2 separate regions of the Homo sapiens genome follow, and region 2 is linked to region 1. Evidence: promoter capture Hi-C in human tissues and cell types (Jung and others, 2019). All regions are on one chromosome and are shown on one strand. The core of a region is centred on a gene start or on the middle of the fragment in contact, and the rest is flanking DNA. Distances in the headings are between cores, read along the strand shown.

The links. Contacts are between HindIII fragments. The study calls those that stand out against the background at their distance.
Region 2: a contact is called between a fragment that was not itself captured here and the fragment with the promoter of SDCBP2 in region 1, in 1 of the 25 tissues and cell types used here (adrenal gland).

Annotation. Positions count from the first base shown.
Region 1 is chr20:1,324,712-1,331,006 of GRCh38, reverse strand. It overlaps SDCBP2 (syndecan binding protein 2), which reads left to right and starts at 1,868. Exons shown (of 9, transcript NM_080489.5): 1 at 1,868-1,922. The region is part of intron 2 of FKBP1A-SDCBP2 (FKBP1A-SDCBP2 readthrough (NMD candidate)); the gene reads left to right. SDCBP2-AS1 (SDCBP2 antisense RNA 1) reads right to left here and starts at 5,664. Exons shown (of 3, transcript NR_040049.1): 1 at 5,478-5,664. RefSeq lists enhancers at 5,088-5,382, 5,373-5,602. The HindIII fragment of the contact is 26,056 bases long and covers 1-6,295 here.
Region 2 is chr20:533,081-538,920 of GRCh38, reverse strand. All of the region lies in intron 1 of CSNK2A1 (casein kinase 2 alpha 1), which reads left to right. Among named protein-coding and RNA genes, the nearest start is that of CSNK2A1, 7.8 kb to the left of the region's middle. RefSeq lists an enhancer at 4,190-4,239. The HindIII fragment of the contact is 8,277 bases long and covers 1-5,793 here.

The DNA.
Region 1 (6,295 bases), core at 619-3,118:
GGAAGTCAGTGATGGGTGGCAACTATCCAAAGAGGGAATAGAAAGAGAGTCCCTGTAGGTATTAAATAGGTGGGAGTTAGGGGACCTGGGCTCCATGCTGACATGCTGGGACCACAGGCAAGCCCCTTACCTGGAAGGGCCTGCTTCCTCCTCCCTCTTCTATAAAGGCCCTTTCAGGTCATGACTGAATGAAGTGAGGTGGGGGAGGAGTGGCTTGGTTTAGTTAGGATCTCTATTTTCCACTTTGCTTTGGCCTTGGACACCTGACCTAAGGTGGGTCCATCACCCACGTTACCTCAGCTTCAGGCCCACACAGCTTACTCTGAGGTTGCCCCACACCTCAGCTTTCTGAAACAGTATGTCCCATAGAAGAGAAGACATGAACTTGGCCCACTTTCCAGCTAACTTGAGAGAGAAACTTTGCCTCTGTGCCTCAGTGTCCCCACCTGGAGGAATGGTGTGAGTCACACCTACTCTGCAGGGATGGCATGAGAAGCCATTGAGATAATGCCTTTAAAGTGCCAGGGGTAGAATCTCTGTGCTCTCTGGGAGTAAGTGCTGAATTAGTGGCAAATGTCTTTCTTGTTATTATTCCTATTGTGTGTTTCCTGTGTGGGACTCTGGGCTGTAAGCTCTTCATTGGCAGGCACAAGATCTGACACCCAAGGCTAGTGCAACTCTGCCAGGTGGGTCATGGGAACTGTGACGTAGGCCTGCCTGGCCCAGGAAGCAGCCCAGATACTGACACACCCTGAGTGTGTACAGCGTCAATCCTCATGGGACTGCCCAGCACACGAGTCCCTCGTCCCTCCCCAGGCACCCAGTGCGACAGGCACCCTCACCCAACCAAACCCACCAGGATCTAAACTAAATTCTTCCTCCTTTTCTGTTCAAATTTATATAATTATTTTTGGAATAAGTAGTACATTTAAACTTTTCAAAATTTAAGACACCAAAAATGTGCCATAAAAAAAAAAATCTCCACCTCAGCACACAGCTCCTTAGGTCTGCTCCCAAGAGACAACCACTCTAAATTCCCATTAAAATAATCAAACTTAATTGCTTCCCCCTTACAAAAGTCATGAGCATTCAGAGCAAAAGCTAACTTAAAAAAAAAAAAACCACCTTGGAACACACAAAAGTACAAACTGAAAACCTCACCCTCAATGCTGCCATTCAGAGATACTCAGCATTTTAGCGTATGTCCTCCTAGACTGCTTTCAACGCACATCCACTTTACAAAAAATGAAAACAAAATGCAAGAAGAGATTCACAATATTGATTTTTCAACATCTCACTAGAATCTCAGAAATGTTTCCTCATACCTTCTTCCTTAAGTGACTTTAATAGCTCTGTGATCTTCCACAGACAATGATTTATTCAAGCAGACCACAGAGATGGGCATTTGGGATTTCTACATTTTCCTTACTAGAAGCAGCAGTGATGGATGGGCCCTGTGACTCCACTGTAACAAATTCCTAGAAGAAATGCTGGGTCACAGGATATGACCACTTTTTAATATCCTGGCCTAGACCCCTAGATACCTATCACAAACCGCCCTCTAGCCAACTGCCTCGATCAGCAGGACTAGGTGTCCAACCCAAATTTAGAGCTATTTAAGAAAAGGCCAAGAAGTCTTGGTTCATAACCGTCTGAACAGCAGCTGTGAGGGCCTTAATCCCACCTCCAAATCCAGACTAAGGCCAAAGGCCTCCTCTGGGCTGGCAACCTGCCTTGTTTACCCAGCCACAGCCCTCACCTGTGCCCATCCCAGTCCAAGGTGAGTCAGCTGAACAGGGGACAGGCACCACCCTTCCCAGATCAGGAAGCCAGCTGAGAGACAGGGCTACGTTTCAGGGAGGGAAACAGATTCAGCAGCGGCAGCAGCTGGAGAAGGTCGTGGAGCAGCACCTTGCCTGCAGGTAAGCGCTGGGGGCCCTGACCCAATCCTGGCTGGGATTGGGATGAGTGAGACCTGCTCTCACCCTGTCCCCTTCCCTCCCTGCCCCTTCCCTTCTGGGACTTCCCAGGCAGCTTCCTTTCGAAGTGCTTCACTCCAAGCAGTCAAGTGTGAAGTGGGGTTTCTTCTTCTGATCCCAGCCCTGGACCAAGTTTGATTAAGGGCTGAGTGATTTTCTTCACCCAGACATCATGAGGGCCCCCGATGCCTTCTGACTGCCCATGACTGTGCTCAAGGAGATGAGATCCACACTTTGCTCCTTGAAAGGCCAATTCCAGCCGAAACCAGAGGCTGCAGGCAGGCAAAAAGCCCATTTCTCCCAAGGAATCCACAGCTCAGGCCGACTTCTCTGGCCTGAGGCTGTTTCTATCAAAAAACCTTCCTGCCACAGCACTGAAACACCTGCTGGGGAACTGCGCCAGGGGCTTCACCTTTCTAAGAACTGGTTTCTTCATCTGGAGACTGAAAATAGCCCACAAAGTCAGGAGAATGGAAGGACATACTGGACACAGGAGCCAGTGCATGCCCTCCTCAGCAGGGTCTCAGAAAATGGGGCAGAAAACGAGCCTGGTATGGGCTGGGCGAGCACTGGACAGGCAGCTTCACGTACAGTGGCCCAAGCTCATGACAATTCCACCACCATCACTTCCCACCTGGGCTCCTGCTCCCACTCCTGCCCTGTAGCCCATCCTCCAAACATCAGCCAGAGGAGGCCTGTCAAAATAACCCTTGGACCTTGGCACTCTGCTGCTACAAATCCCCCAGTGGCTCCCATCTCACTACAGTAAATGCCAAAGTCCTCACCATGACCTCCAGGCCCTCCAGGATCTGGCCCCTCTCACTTCTCCAGCTTCCTCCCCACTACTCCTCCTTACTCCCTCTCTGCACAACTGGCTTCTCACTGGCAGATGTCCTCTAAACACAACACCAACTCCCACCTGAGAGGCTCTGCAATGGCCGTGCCCACCCCATTAGGCCTTTCCTCAAATGTCACCCCACCCAGCCAGCAAGGCTTCTGAACCTCCTGACATGACCCTCCGTCCTGCTCTTTCTCTCCAGTGCCTCCCACCATCTAACACAGCACACAGAGTCACAAAGCCTATTTATCCAGCTCTTCCCCCAAAGAAAGTACATTTGGGGACCAAGTCTTCTTTCCTTCACTGCTGATACCTAGAACAGTACTCAGACTTAGCAGGTGCTGAGTAAGTAAGCGCTGAAACAATGAATAAACAGCTAACTTTTACTGAATGCCTATTATGTGCTAGGTGCTGTGCTAAATGCTTTCCATATACACCTTAACTCTTTTTAAAAATCTTTCAGTCTCCAGACAACTGTGATGCAACTATTGTTATCCAGATTACAAAGGAAGAAATGACATTCAAAGGGGATTTGCCTATGCTGTGCTCTCACAAGTCAGAAGCAGTCAGTCTGAACCCTGCCCTGCCTGGGCCTGGGTTCAGGCGTGTCTGCTTGAGGAAGTCACAGCTTTTCCCCAGCAGGCAGTGCAGCACTGAGAGGAGGAGTGGGGGTACATGCTGGTGGCCTAGCAACAGCTTCTTCTATTCCGACTCACCACATCCCTGGGCTAATTTGGCCTTCCAGGAGCTATTCCTCTGACACTCTAACCCACGCTTCCCTCCCGCGCACTGTCTTGTAAAGGACGGATGAGCTGTCCACAGGAACGAGTGGGAGTTCCATCACTTCAGCTCTTTGGAACAAAGTGTTCCAAAGAGTGTTCTCACTCTAAGTTCAAAGATGGGGGCTGAAGTCCCCTTGTCAGCCCTGCTGATCTCCGAAGCCCAGCTATTGGTTTGTTGTGGGTGTTGTTATTGCTTATATCAAAAAGTACAGAAGCTCAGGGATGGAAATCTGGAAAGGGCTGTGGGAGAGGAAAATTCCTCTGAGAGAGAGGGGTTAGGTGGGTTCTTTTCCTTTCGGAGGAACCAATTACTTGTGGGAAGCCATCAGCACAGAACTGAGCAAACTTCCACTGTCAGATTATAGGAGCCAGGCAGCCTTTCAACCTAACTCGTTAGGGCCATGGTTTCTCTCCTTTTCCAGGCCCAGGTTATTCTTCGAAAGACTTTCTACTTATTGACTGCAAACACAGACAGGCATGGGAAGAAAGACTGTATATTTAGGATATCAGGCTTTCTCTTCTCTCTGTGCCTGCTTTTCCACTCCTTTCAGAAATAGTAATGGGATGCCTGTTGTGTGCCAGGCACTGTGCTCAGCACTGGGGGTTAACAAATGAGTGACATTTCCTGACCAGTGAGGGAGATGAGCAAACAAACACAGCACAGTGGAAATCCAACCTAGGAAATGCAGAAGGCCTTGCTCATAGTAGGTGATTAACAAACACTTGTGGAATATATGATGAAGAGGCAAATACAAGAAATGCTGTCGTCTAGAGAAGGGAGGCTTGCCAATCTCCATGCGTACAGGTGGGGGAAAGCTTTAAATTGGAGGAAAAAGAGTTCACAACAAGGAAAAGAGAGAAGGCATGAATGACTCTTAAGACAGAGGGAATAGCACCTGCAAAAGCATGGAGGCATGAACTAGCAGGCTGACTTTTAGGACTCAACCTAAAGTAGTCTGGAATAAATGAACTTCATGATAAGTGTGGAGAAGAATGAGATGGTGAGAATGGAAACATTACCAGAAGTCAGGTCACAGAGATTTGAGGGCAAGAAGTAGGTATGGCTTCAGAAGGGAAAGGGAGGAGCTGAGGATAACTCCCAGATTTCTGACATAGCCCATGGGTGGATTCAGTGAGACCGCTGGGGAGGCGCGGCACAGCTGGGGAAAATCACGAGTCCAGTTTGGATAATCTGCGAGGTAAACGGGATCCAGAAGGCAACTGGACTCTCAGGCCTGGGCCTCCCTGTCCCTGGAATAGCACACTCTCTTCCCACTTGAACATCCATCCTACACGGCCCAGTCAGGGTCTTCTTCCTTCCTCCAGGAGACCTTCCTGATTGCCCTAGCCTTCCTCCTATACGCCACATCCAACTGCCTGAGTCCCTCATAACAGGCTTTCGGTCTGATTTTGCTGTGGGAATTGATTTGCCCGGCCAAGCCAAGAACCCTTCCCTAGGCAGCAGAAGCCCAGTCACTCAGTCACTGGTGGGTGGGACGCGGGGTGAATCTGCGTAGGGTGGGGCGGGGCATTTTTAGCTCAACACTGGGTCAGAAGTCACGGCCAGACAAGAAACGGGTGAGAAACGGGGGAGGAAGGGTGACGTCACAATTGGTAGGAAATACCTTGGGACTTGACGCTTTCGAAACCAAAGGGAGAGCAAAAGCAGCCGGGAGCGCGCGGGCCGACCTGGTTCTCCTCCCTTCCCACGGCTGCCTTAGTACAGAATCTTATAAGTCCTCCTCCTTCAGAGGCTACAAATGGTGTTCCGAGGCCAGGGGAGTTTAAAGCTCGATTTCACCCGCGCAGCCTCCAATCCGGTAAAGAGGGGCCGCGGAGCCCGACCAAGTCTTCCTATGCCTTACTCTGCTGCTTTACCTGATCTATTTTTGTGGATGCCGGCGCCAGCTACGGGCGCCCGGAGAAAGCACGAGGCCGGGTGGACTCTGGTAACGCAAGCGGCAAGGAGGCCGCCATGTTCCACTCTGCAGCCGCTAGGGATCGTGGGAGTCACCCCTAACCGCGCCCGGGCCTGGGTGGGCGAAACGCATGCGCTCTAGAAGTTGCTGAGTCGCTTGGCGGTGTTTCTGCGCAGGCGCCGTAGCCCATAGCAACCGCCGTAACCTGTAGCAACCGGAAGATGTCGCTTCCGGCTGGTTTGGGGCTAAGAAAGGGGTTATAGTCATTTCGAGATCATAGAACGATGTGACAGATAGGAAACTGAGGCTGGGTTGGAGGCAGGCCCTAGGGACCGTTGCGTTGGACCTCGCTCCTGTGGCGCGGTGGATGGAGTTTGTGGCTTGTGGCTCCTATTTCCCAAAGCAGGAAATTGAGACAGAGGGAAGGCACAGGTTCGTCCTGAGGCTGCAGCCCAGGTGATGGTTCCCCGGGTAAAAAATCAATATGATGCCCTTTGTTTATAAGGAGAAGGCAGGGACATGAAAGTAATTTCTAATAAAAGAATATGCATTTCACTTTGTAAAAGCTGAGGCTGGCTTACACCCGATCACGCTTGTACCCAACTTAGGAATCAGCTTAGGTTTACTAGAAGACAATATTCAGCTGAATTTTGCCAACAGTTTATATCTGACATCTTGAGTCAAAGGCTAAATATATTTATATAAAAGCGCGGAGTCACTGTGACAGCTACACATGTACACAGACGTGAGCATGCTGTTCGGGTGACTCACCCGTGG
Region 2 (5,840 bases), core at 406-2,905, 790 kb after region 1:
TTCTGAAGGTCTAGGACATTGGTAGGATTTCTGTAAATAGGTGGTTCTTCCATATCTTGGATAAATGACATAATTTCTTCATTAGTTTTTATTGGCTTAATAATGGGTTTCTATGACAGCCTTTTAAGGCTTATTTCATATTTTTTTAGAGGAGATGGAAATGGGTGATACATTTTTGTGAATTTGTAACTGTCTCTCTGTTCTCTCACACCTCCCACCCCACCCCAGCTCAGCTCAAACTTGTAAGATCTTTTCTCCCTGTCATTGTCTGTTGAGGTTGTTGAGTTTAAGAGTCAGATCTGGGAATCATCACTACAGAATGGAGTTTCTAGCTTTTAAGAAAAGTCTTTTCTTTTTGTTCTTTAAAGTATCCTATTAATTGGATTCATAAAATATGGACTAACTAAACTTTAGTCAGAGGATGAAGGAAGTGAGACCATTTCTTTTGAGTTATTACCTGAATAGAAAGATGATTACAAGATTAGCATTTCAGGGTATGAAAGACTTTAGAGGTTATGTTTGACTTTGGGTTTAGAGTAAGGGAAATTGGGCCACATGAATGTTAACTGGTCTACTAAGATATCTCAGCCCTAGAGCTAGTCTAGAATCCTGGTCCAGCCAATAGAGAATCATGACTTTTGAACTATGTTCCCTGAGTACCCTTTTCTACTGTTGGCCGGGCATGGTGGCTCACACCTGTAATCCCAGTTCTTTGAGAGGCCGAGGTGGGCAGATGACTTGAGGTCAGGACAAGACCAGCCTGGCCAACATGGTAAAACCCCATCTCTACTAAAATTAGCTGAGTGTGGAGGTGCGTGCCTGTGGTCCCAGCTACTCAGGAGGCTGAGAATCACTTGAACCTGGGAGACGGAGGTTGGTTGCAGTGAGTCAAGATCACGCCACTGCACTCCAGCCTGGGGGACAGAGCAAGACTCCGTCTCAAAAAAAAAAAAAAAAGATGTTAACTGTCTATAATATTCAACTATATGACAACTTTTGCATAAATATTACAGTATGATTTGTACAAGTTCAGAAACTGAAAACCAATATGATTTGCCATTGAATTAGGTAAGGGCTTAGTATTTTAAGGTAATAAATAATGTGATACTTGATTTGAAATGAGAAACTGGGTTTTGATCTGTCACAATTCGTGGGTAACCTGGATAAGGTTTGTTTCATGAGAGTATTAATGTGTTCTTATACCTGAATTTCTTTGAACTTCTGAAATGGATAATTTCGAAAGTAGCATGTCATTTAGTTTATAGAGAAATCTAGGCCAGCCAGCTTTTCAAATGAAGAAATTCCTCTAGGATTATTAAGGAAAAGTAGCTGCTGTCATTGTAACAAAGGATGTATTTTCATTGGGTTATAGACAATTGGTAGTTTTCTTACGTTGAGTGCTCCCAGATGTACTTTTTTTTTTTCACATGTAGAAGTCAAAGATTGAGTCTTTTAAAAAGTTTAAGGTGAAAGCATTCACAGTATCACAAGATACTGCTAAGAGTGGCATTTTAACTGGTTTCTACAAATTCTGTCTTTCAGTCTTAGACATTAAAAAACCCTACGTAGCAACAGTTGCTATGGTCGGCAAGCTTCTTTACATTCGTGGTGATAATGTTTTCTTGCATAGAAAATATTGTGTTATCTGAGGTGACAGTTTTAGGGTTAAATACCAAGGTACAAGTTAGATTAATGTTTTATAATTTTTTATGTGTGACATCTTAAATGCCCTTATATTGGCTGCTCTTTTCTTTTTATACTTTCTTGTCTTGTGGGTTTTTCTGACAGGTTTTTATTAGCTGAAACATTTTAATTTGCTTGGAAAAGTGAACATTTGAAATTTTCCTGAAGTTATGACTAATGCTTTAATGGGCATTTCTCAGTTTAGCTATCTCATCAATGTTCTATAAATTTTAAGAAAGCTACCCTGTTTAAAATGAATGGGTAAATTATTTTCCAAAAAATGGTATCATGTCATATCCAGAAATACGAGATGGTCATTTTGGGTTATTGAATTCATAACCACTCAGAAGATGTTGTTCATTCAGCAGATCCTGAGCGCCTGCCACGTTTCTGGCAGGCGTTGTGCTAAAGATCTCCAAACTGTCACTGCCCTCCAAGCTCAAAATTGAGTGACGTTTTCTGATAACAGGCATATCATACCACAACTTAGTAGATTTTGGAGGTGTTTTCTTATAATAACTCCTATTTGCTTTGTATCTTAGGTGTAGTTTTTGAAACAGCTGCAGAAATGAGAAGGGGGTAGAATAGAGAATTAATTGAGATTGCGGGTAGGGAGGGGAAGGCAATAGGTTAGTGGGAAAGAACTCCCACTTTGAGTTTGGGGAAGTTTACTTAACCTCTTCAAGTCTGGGAGTTCTTGTCTCTACAGTTCGGATAACAACTACCTTGGGCAACTTACTAACTTTTGGTTTCTTCACCTGTAACATGGGAATTAGTAGTACCTACCTCAGGATTTTTGTGAGGATTAATAACTAGAGTACTAGCTAGTATTATCTCAGGATTATTGAGGATTAAAGGAGAAAATTGATAAAATGTCTGGCATGTGGGTGCCCAACATTAGTTCTTTCCCTTCCCTTTCGGAGAAAAGAATGTGTTTATTGCCAGTGCTGTCATTCTTCATTCTTTATTTTCATTTTCTGCTGCCAAGAGTTCTTATTTTTTTAATGAGACTTTTGACCTGTACTTCCTTGTTTCTAATGTAGCCTGTTGGGTGGGTGAGGTATGAATTGCTGCCTAGGGGTGGATCAGTATGTAAGTCACGCCCAGTGTAGATTACCTCAATTACTCGTGTACAGTGTCTATTACCTAGTCCTGGTGAGTCTAGGATTCTTTTGCTTCTAGATAGAGAAGGTAATATTCCCATCTCAGACTCAGGAAAAGGTCTACCTTTGCTCACCTATAGACTTGTAAATATAGATCAGAGGTCTTACTCCCAGTGGTTCTCTGATCACAGTTTGGGAATTGCTTGAATATTGTGTGTTAGGGATATGTTTGGAGAAGGCCAGCTCCCTGCATTAACATCTTCTCTATGTCTTGCTCTCTCAGGTAATCCACTAACTTGCTTTCTTGTTTGCTTTGTATTATTAAGTGATAAACTGTAGGCAGACCAGGAACTTGTATTTATCGGCACTTTAAAACTTTTTTTTTTTTTTTTTTTGAGATGGAGTCTTGCTCTGTCGCCCAAGCTGGAGTGCAGTGGCGCAATCTCTGCCTCCTGGGTTCAAGTGATTCTCCTCTCTCAGCCTCCTAAGTAACTGGGATTACAGGTGCATGCCACCCCACCGGGCTAATTTTTGTATTTTTAGTAGAGGCGGGGTGTCGCCATGTTGGCCACGCTGGCCTCAAACTCCTGACCTCAGGTGATCCACCCGCCTCAGCCTCCCAAAGTGCTGGGGTTACAGGCGTGAGCCACCGCGCCCGGCCAGTGTTTTGTGTATTTATGATTATATAGAATGGCTACAAATGGCCATCTGCTTTGGAGTTGTCTACCTTTTGTGAAAAAATGAAAATAGACTATTGCCTAGCAATTAAGTATTCAAGCATGTATTTTGCCACATAATTTATTGTGAGAAGGTTATCAATGTCAAATAAAATGCTTTCATTATTTGCTTCTATTTGTCTGTCTTCCTGACCAGTTCATTTTTCCTTCCAGTGAAGCCATCTTGAGCTAGGGTTTTCTTTGTGGGTAGTTGTTAATTTTTTTTGTAGAGACAAGGTCTCACCATGTTGCCCAGGCTGGTCTCAAACTCCTGGGCTCAAGCAGTCCTCTTAACTCAGCCTCCCAAAGTGCTGAGATTACACTCATGAGCCACCACACTGGTCCGAAGAAATTTTTTTTTTTTTTTTTTTTTTTTTTTTTTTTGGGAGATAGCATCTCACTCTGTTGCCAGGCTGGAGTGCAGTGGCACGACCTTGGCTCACTGCAACCTCCACCTCCCGGGTTCAAGCAATTCTCCTGCCTCAGCCTCCCAAGTAGCTGGGACTACAGGCGCACGCTGCCACGCCTGGCTTTTTTTTTTTTTTGTATTTTAGTAGAGATGGGGTTTCACTGTGTTTCCCAGGCTGGTCTCTAACACCTGAGCTCAGGCAATCCACCCATCTCGGCCTCCCAAAGTGCTGGGATTGCAGGTGTGAGCCACTGCACCCAGCCTGGTCTGAAGAATTTTTAAACACCACAGCTAAGGACCTGAGCATTCATCTGCAGCTACCTATATGCTCTTGTTACATACAGTTGTTATACTAGGGGGTTTTTCACAGCCATCTTTTATGACTGTTTTTGGAAAACATCACATTGACCTTCATACATATTCAAAACTTTAGGCTTTGTTGCATCTGGAGTCCAACACTGAGGCCCACAGATGTCACCAGCCCCCAGCCAGCAAGGTGGGGCATGTCTCAGTTGTCTTCCTTTCTCCCTTCAGTAGCCACACAGAAAAGCTTTTCCATCATTTAAAATCTGATTTTTATACAATTGTGGCCTGGTGGCCAGCCCATTCAGGTAAAAGAATAATGAAGAAACCTGATTATTGAAACTCAGTATCCCACCCCTACCTTGCCTCCAAATTTAAAGCAGTTCATTTTATTATAGTGTTTTGGATAGGCTGTTAATAAATCAGTTTGGAGAACTAAGGAAATAGTATTAAATTTAGTGAAAAGAACCTATTTAGGCTTTGGATCCTAAACAGATCTGGCTTCCACCACTTAGTAATCCTGTTGTTTTTGGCAGATTATTTAACCTCTGAATCTGTTTATTTCTAAAATCAGAATATGCATCTGATACTGTGCCTGGTTTGTAAGAGGCATTCAAATGGTAACAGTAGTTATTACATTCATAAGTGCTGAATTTTTCTTTAGATTACTGTATATCCCAAATGAAGTTTTCCATCTTTTGGTTCCAGAGGGTAATAGCCAGTGGAGTAAAGTTTCACATTGTGACTTTATTTTGCTTATATGGCGTGGTAAAAAGGTGTATAGATGATGACTATATTGTAAGAGACAGTACTGGAATTCCGATTTCTCTTAGGTGTTTGGGGTAGAACTATTAATCCAAATCAAACTGCTTGGATTTTCTTCTAATACCTCCCTTCATTGGGAGACCTCACACTGTTGCTATGTCATTTATGTCACATTGACACTCAGATCCCTTTTCTGGGTTGAAGGTGGAGAAATGTAATTCACACAAAAGGCCCAAATGCTAATGTTTTCTGTTTTACTGTACTTCCTGGTTTGTTTTATGGAAGTAATACTTCCGTGTATTGGTTTAATTTTTTTGTATGTATGTATGTATTTATTTTGAGACAGCGTCTCGCTCTGTCACCCAGGCTGGAGTGCAGTGACATGATCTCGGCTCATTGCAACCTCTGCCTCCTGGGTTCAAGTGATGCTTCTGCCTCAGCCTCCCAAGTAGCTGGGACTACAGGTGTGTGCCACCACACCTGGCCTATGTGCATTGTTTTTAAAAACAAACATGTTGTATGTTTTGTATGTAGGAATAAAAGCAGAAGGCCCCTAGGGGCATGTTAGGATTTATAATCTCCTAAAGTTAAATATTCTGCAAGTTTACACAAGCAGTAACTTCATGAATTACTAAGTATTACTGAGAGTATTTATGTTCCAAATTCGAAGCCTTAATCAAACCAGAAAAAAACATATTCTGTTGGGTTTGAACAGGTAGTTTTCTTATTCATTGTATACTTAGAACCTTGGGACTTAAAGGTCAGAGAGTCAAGGGAACTGCCAAGGAGTTAGTTGCTAGATATTTTTTTGTTTTTTTGAGCTGTATATATTTCCCCACTTGAAAAAACAAAAACACTACT